Regions from separate parts of the Homo sapiens genome. Here region 2 is linked to region 1. The links are contacts of gene promoters, found by promoter capture Hi-C in human tissues and cell types (Jung and others, 2019). All regions are on one chromosome and are shown on one strand. Each heading gives the region's core, a stretch centred on a gene start or on the middle of the fragment in contact. The rest is flanking DNA. Distances are from core to core; before and after follow the strand shown. Region 1 holds the start of RECQL5 (RecQ like helicase 5). Region 2 has its middle 18 kb from the start of SLC16A5.

What was found. Contacts are between HindIII fragments. The study calls those that stand out against the background at their distance.
Region 2: a fragment that was not itself captured here is called in contact with the fragment with the promoter of RECQL5 in region 1 in 1 of the 25 tissues and cell types used here (hippocampus).

Annotation. Positions count from the first base shown.
Region 1 is chr17:75,665,213-75,668,637 of GRCh38, forward strand. RECQL5 (RecQ like helicase 5) reads right to left here and starts at 1,942. Exons shown (of 20, transcript NM_004259.7): 1 at 1,832-1,942; 2 at 1,216-1,359. The coding sequence starts at 1,345. SAP30BP (SAP30 binding protein) reads left to right here and starts at 2,126. Exons shown (of 11, transcript NM_013260.8): 1 at 2,126-2,266; 2 at 3,304-3,413. The coding sequence starts at 2,161. RefSeq lists enhancers at 1,067-2,266, 1,848-1,947, 2,118-2,367. The HindIII fragment of the contact is 12,020 bases long and covers 1-3,425 here.
Region 2 is chr17:75,067,943-75,071,367 of GRCh38, forward strand. No RefSeq gene overlaps it. Among named protein-coding and RNA genes, the nearest start is that of SLC16A5, 18 kb to the right of the region's middle. The HindIII fragment of the contact is 6,760 bases long and covers 1-3,425 here.

The DNA.
Region 1 (3,425 bases), core at 692-3,191:
CTTTTCATTGAAGTTGTTGAAAATTAAATGAGAATGTAGGAAAAGCACCTAGCAGAGTGTCTGGCACATGGGAGGGTCTCGATGTAATCCTAATTCCCCTCCTGTCCTTTCTATGAAAAAGGCAAGGATCCTGGGAAACTTGGATACATGCCCAAACCATTTCTAGTAATGGTTAAAAACAAGATTTAAAAAGTCTGGGTCAAGCGCAGTGGCTCACGCCTGTAATCCCAGCACTTTGGGAGGCTAAGGCAGGCAGATCACGAGGGCAAGAGTTTGAGACCAGCCTGGCCAACATGGTGAAACTCTGTCTCTACTAAGAATACAAAAATTACCCAGGCATGGTGGCACGTGCCTGTAATCCCAGCTACTCAGGAGGCTGAAGCAGGAGAATTGCTTGAACCCAGGAGGCGGAGGTTGCAGTGAGCCGAGATCGCGCCACTGCACTCCAGTGTGGGCGACAGAGCAAGACTCTGTTTCAAAAAAAAAAAAAAAAAAAAAGAAGTCTGAGTCTGCTGTGATATGGATGATTGAACTAAACAGCCATGAAAGCAGAGTACTGCTAGATGAGTGGGTACATCTGTGTAGACATGAGAGGACATTACTTAGAGGGCTTTTGTTTAGACATGTATCATTAATATTACATTGCTGCTCGCCTCTTGGCAACTTCCATTTGTCACCGTATCTCAGGTTTATAACATTATTACTCTTTCCTTCTCTATCTGGGACCAAGGCCACTCAACCTGCAACAAGGGAATTACCTAGGAGGCCAGTGACCGAGTTAAGTTATTCCTACCACCCTCACTGTTGCTGTTCGTTTGTGTGTACAAACGAACAATAATGAGAATCTGAAGTGTTTTCAAAGACCATGTGTAAATCTAGCTATGAAATATAGACCAGCTGGGTGGTTCTGCCACTAAAACTACAAGCTTTGGGCCGGGCGTGGTGGCTCATGCTTGTAATCCCAGCACCTTGGGAGGCCGAGGTGGGAGGATTGCCTGAGCCCAGGATTTGGAGACCAGCCTGAGCAACATGCCAAGACCCCATCTCTAATTAAAACAAATAAACGAAACTACAAGCTTTGACAACTCTAAAGATTTCCAAATCCAGTTATGGACCAAAGGTGAGGCAGTACGAAGGGTGAGGAGGAGGGTGTTCTGCCGCAGCGTTATGGTATAGCCAGCATAAATTTAAAGGAAGGTAGCTTGGTAATGTTACCTTTTACTACAGCCATGGTCGCACTCTCCTGTAAAGGCGTCTTAAAAGAGTCAAACCCAAAGACCTTCTTCAGCGTACTCCGGACTCGCCGCTCAGGGTCAAAAGGAAAGGTGGTATGGTGGCTGCTCATCTTAGCCAAGAACAGTGGCCAAAGGTTAAGGCAAAGGTAGTAAAAGGTTGCCACGAGAACCCTCTGTTTTGCATTAAAAATACAGATTATTTTTCTGTAACAATTTGCTATATTACACTTAAATAATGTATTATTTTTAAGTAATAAAGCTGAAGGTGAACTGCCTCAAGCAATACATTCCTCAGTAATTAACATCTCCACTTTTACGCTCAATGAAAATGAAAACATTGAACTATTCCAGGCCACGGTATAGCACAGAGCTAGAAATCAGATCAAGAGAAGAAACATAAATGTCTTCAGAACAGCTTGGAGAACGGGGAACCGTTTTCCTAAGATCCACCACCTGCTCCTACTTCTATAAGCGCAACCACGACGACCGTTCTTCCACCCCGGGACCCCGAACCCCTTCTCCCGTCTTCCTGAGCCCAAGATCCGCAATTTTCTCTCTTGGCTGGCCGACACCTCCCTCTCTTCACCCTAAGATATCAGAACCGGCCGTGGTCCGCCCAAGAATTAAAGGCTGCTGGCTGGTTCCGGAACTGTTCGAAGACCCCTATACACAACCCCAACTCAGAGAAGCCAAAGCGCTGGGAATTCAGCTTTAGGCAGAACCCACGCAATCTTATATCCGTCGCGCAGTGATGACGTAGCGCGAGCGCTGGCATGAGGGCGGAGCCAGGCGCAGGAAACTGCCGTTTTGATTGGTTTCCAGTGTGGCGCGGGGGTCTCCTGGGATCCGAAAGAACCTGCCTTTCCGCCCGGAAGTCGGCGTCTTGAGTCATAGGAGTGAGCCACGCCCGGGCTGTGGGAATAAGATGGCGGGGAAGAAGAATGTTCTGTCGTCTCTCGCAGTTTACGCGGAAGATTCAGAGCCCGAGTCTGATGGCGAGGCTGGAATCGAGGCGGTGGGCAGCGCGGCTGGTAAGGCCCAAGTGCGAAGCTGGAAGGGGGAATCGGGTGTCTGCCCGGAATGCTGTACCCTCGCTGGGCGGGAGGGAACAAGATGGTCATTGTGCTCCAAGCACCGGACCCCGAAGAATGGTCCAGGGTCCGGGGTGAGATAGAGCATTAGAGACTGTGGACTAAGAATGAAGAATCTCCTTCCCGTTATTTCGATTAATTTGCCTAAACTTACTGAAAGACTCCGTGCCGGCTATAGTGATAGACAGAGGGATGGACGAAGAGGGAGCGGCTGCTCAGCCACTGCCTGTTTCCCCTGGGCTCGTTGTTTGATGAGGGAGAGCGATAAGTAAAACATACGTGGAAGATGGTAAAGATTGTGTTCGTTAACTTTATAACTTTTAGTTAGGAATGTGCCCTAAACACATCTTGGAGCTTTTAAAAACAAACGTATCTGATGCCCAAAGTGAGAGAACCTAATTCGGTAGAACTGGGGTAGGATGTGGGCATTTGTGAACTTTTTAAGGATCCCAGGTGATTTTTCTTATTTTGTGAGTTTTTAAAGCCTAACGGTGATGTTCTCCTCCTCAGGTTGAGAAGCACAATGTTAGATAATGGAAACAGATTCCTTTGGGAGAATAAAGAACAAGTTACCTAACAACATATCAGGACCTTAGCTTCCTCATCTGGAAAGTGAAGGGGATTGGATTAGGTTAGGTACTTCCATGTTTTGTGATTTTGTGTGGTCTCTTCCAGTCAGAAAGTTCTCTGATGGTTTCCTATAAACACTTTAGTGTTTATCTAGTGTTTATAGCATTAGAAACAGAATTTAGTACTCGGTTTTGTTCCCTGACCTTTTAATGATTTTATTCAGTAAATGCTGGCCTTCTCAGAGAGCCGAATCTGGGCCTATTGTAACTTAACATGAGATTTAGGTTCCCTTTGTATCTTCAGAGATAGTCTTGGCCACTCAAATCTCTGGACATTTTTTCTTACATTGTAACTCTTGTTTTTTTTTTCTTGCTTTTTGTTTGTTTGTTTGTTTTTTAACCTTTCAGAGGAGAAAGGCGGATTGGTATCTGATGCCTATGGGGAGGATGACTTTTCTCGTCTAGGGGGTGATGAAGATGGTTATGAAGAAGAAGAAGATGAGAACAGTAGACAGTCGGTAGGTAAATCT
Region 2 (3,425 bases), core at 639-3,138, 600 kb before region 1:
CCACCAAGAAACCAGCACCACTCCTGGAATCAGCTATGCCAGCACACAGCAGTGTTCTGTGGTTTGGCTCACAACAGGAAATACATCGTCCCTCCTTTTTTTCTCTCGTCTTGCAGTCTCCCTCAGCCTGTCCTACCAGGTTGAGCTAGGAGGGGGAAAATGTGGCTCGGAGCAGAGTTCAGAGGGTGGGTTTGGGGCTGAGAGACAACAATGTGGTGACTGGCTCAGTCCACCTGTTTGGTTCCCCTCACATGTACATGCTTCTGCACATACTTGAACTTGCATAGGATGGTGAAAAATGCTGGGTGTGGTGGCTCATGCCTATAATCCCAGCACTTTGGGAGGCCAAGGCAGGTGGATCACTTGAGGTCAGGAGTTTGAGACCAGCCTGGCCAACATGATGAAACCCCGTCTCTACTAAAAATACAAAGAATTAGGCTGGGCGCGGTGGCTCACGCCTGTAATCCCAGCACTTTGGGAGGCCAAGGCGGGTGGATCACGAGGTCAGGAGATGGAGACCATCCTGGCTAACACGGTGAAACCCTGTCTCTACTAAAAATACAAAAAATTAGCTGGGCGTAGTGGTGGGCACCTGTAGTCCCAGCTACTCGGGAGGCTGAGGCAGGGGAATGGCGTGAACTCGGGAGGTGGAGCTTGCAGTGAGCCAAGATCGCGCCACTGCACTCCAGCCTGGGCGACAGAGCGAGACTCCGTCTCAAAAAAAAAAAAAAAAAAAAATTAGCTATGCGTGGTGGCGGGTGCCTGTAATCCCAGGTACTCTGGAGGCTGAGGCAGGAAAATCGCTTGAACTCAGGAGACAGAGGTTGCAGTAAGCCGAGATCATGCCATTGCGCTCCATCCTGGGCAACAAGAGCGAAACTCCGACTCGGAAAAAAAGAAAAAAAAACGTGGTGAAAAAACAACTTCATGCCTCCATGGAACAAGATACAACTACCCTTCTACAAGCAAAAATAATCTCTCCTTCCCTCCAAAATAAACACGAAGTGCCAAGTCATTGTATCCCTGTCTCAGAGACAGTCACTATTTCTGAGCTATGTTAATTGCTCCTAATTGCCAGGCTCACACCTGGAATCCCAGTACTTTGGGAAGCTGAAGTGGGAGGACTGCTTGAGGCCAGGAGTTCAAGACCAGGATGGGCAACATAGGCCCCATCTATAAAATTTTTTTTTTAATTAGCCAGGCGTGGTGACACATGCCTGTAGTTCCAGCTACTCAGGAGGCTGAGGTGGGAGGATCACTTGAGCCAAGGATTTCAAAGCTGCAGTGAGCTGTGCCCTCTAGCCTGAGAGACAGAGTGAGACACTGTCTCTCTTTTTTTTTTTTTGAGACGGAGTTTCACTCTTGTTGCCCAGGCTGGAGTGCAATGGTATCATCTAGGCTCACTGCAACCTCCGCCTCCCAGGTTCAAGCGATTCTCCTGCCTCAGCCTCCCGAGTAGCTGGGATTACAGGCGTGTGCCACCACATCCAGCTAATTTTTGTATTTTTAGTAGAGACAATGTTTTACCATGTTGGCCAGGATGGTTTGATCTCCTGACCTCGTGATCCACCCGGCTCGGCCTCCCAAAGTGCTGGGATTACAGGCGTGAGCCACTATGCCCAGCCAGAACCTGTCTCTTAAAAAAAAAAAAAAAAATTGGCCAGTTACCATGGCCCACACCTGTAATCCCAGCACTTTGGGAGGCTGAGGTGAGAGGATTGCTTGAGGCCAGGAGTTCAAGACCATCTTGGGCAACATAGCAAGACCTGTCTCTACAAAAGAAAAAAATTTTTGTTAATTACTCCTAATTCGGTTGGTGTAATACACAACACCTAGTTGGTGACGGGCAGCTCAGGCCACAGGGTCACTTGATGTCCCATGAACTAGGTGTTCCATCTCGGTCAGGGCCCAGTGAAATAGTTACTTGCAAAAGAGGACATGGACCTGCCCAGAACCCTGGAGTTCTGCATGGCCACAGTCCAGTTGGGACTTGCAGGAGGCTCTGATACAGCATCTGTACTGGCAGGAGATAATTTCAGTATCACTGGATCTCCCCAGCCATAAAGCCCAGGTGGCAGCACAGAGCTAAATTTTTAATAAGAGTCATACCACACAGAAAGATTTTCATCAGTAAAGCTTTCCCCTGGAGTAAACTGTTACTCCATGAAGCCAGATTAATTCCTTGATCAATTTTCTATACAGGGCAATTAAATTGCTTCTAAGTTTTATATTTTCATTTTAATTTTTACTTAAATACTTTCATTAAGATCATGGTTTTCCTAGAATCTTTCTGAACTTACTCTGATTCAGAGGACTGCCCAATTAAAAAAAAAAAAAGACTGGGGCCGGGCGTGGTGGCTCACGCCTGTAATCCCAGCACTTTGGGAAGGCAAGGTGGGCAGATCACCTGAGGTCAGGAGTTCGAGACAAGCCCAGCCAATATGGTGAAACCCCGTCTCTACTAAAATACAAAAATGAGCCAGGCATGGCGGCAGGTGCCTGTAATTCCAGCTACTCAGGAGGCAGAGGCAGGAGAATCACTTGAACCCGGGAGGTGGAGGTTGTAGTGAGCCAAGATCACGCCACTGCACTCCAACCTGGGCAACAGAGTGAGACTCTGTCTCAAAAACAAATAAATAAATAAAAATAAAATATCGGCCAGATGTGGTAGCTCATTTGTGTAATCCCAGCCCTTTGGGAGGCCGGGGCAGGTGGATCGTATTCGAGGCTGCAGGGAGCTATGATTGTGCCACTGTACTCCAGCCTGGGCAACAGAGTGAGAAACCCTGTCTCAAAAAAAGAAAAAAATATATGCTTGGCCAGGAGAGGTGGCTCATACCTATAAACCCAGGTACTTGGGAGGCTGAGGTGAAAGGATTGCTTGAGCCTGGAAGGTCAAGGCTTGCTTGCTTGCTTGCTTGCTTGCCTGCCTGCCTGCCTGCCTGCCTTCCTTCTTTCTTTCTTTCGAGGCTGAGGTAAAAGGATTGCTTGAGCCTGGGTGGTTGAGGCCTTTCTTTCTTTCTTTCTTTCTTTCTTTCTTTCTTTCTTTCTTCTTTCTTCCTTCCTTTCTTTCTTTCTGTTTCTTTCTTTCTTTCTTTCTCTTTCTTTCTTTCTCTCTTTCTTTCTTTCCTTCTCTCTCTTTCTCTCTTTTTTTTTTGATGGAGTCTTGCTCTGTTGCCCAGGCTGGAGTGCAGTGGCACCATCTTGGCCCATTGCAACCTCCACCTCCAAGGTTCAAGCGATTCCCCTGCCTCAGCCTCCCGAGGTAGCTGGGATTACAAGCGCCCGCCACCACACCCGGCTAATTTTTGTATTTTTAGTAGAGACGGGTTTTTGCCATGTGGGCCAGGCTGGTCTCAAACTCCTGACCTTAGGTGATCCACCTGCCTCGGCTTCCCAAAGTGCTGGGATTACAGGCCTGAGCC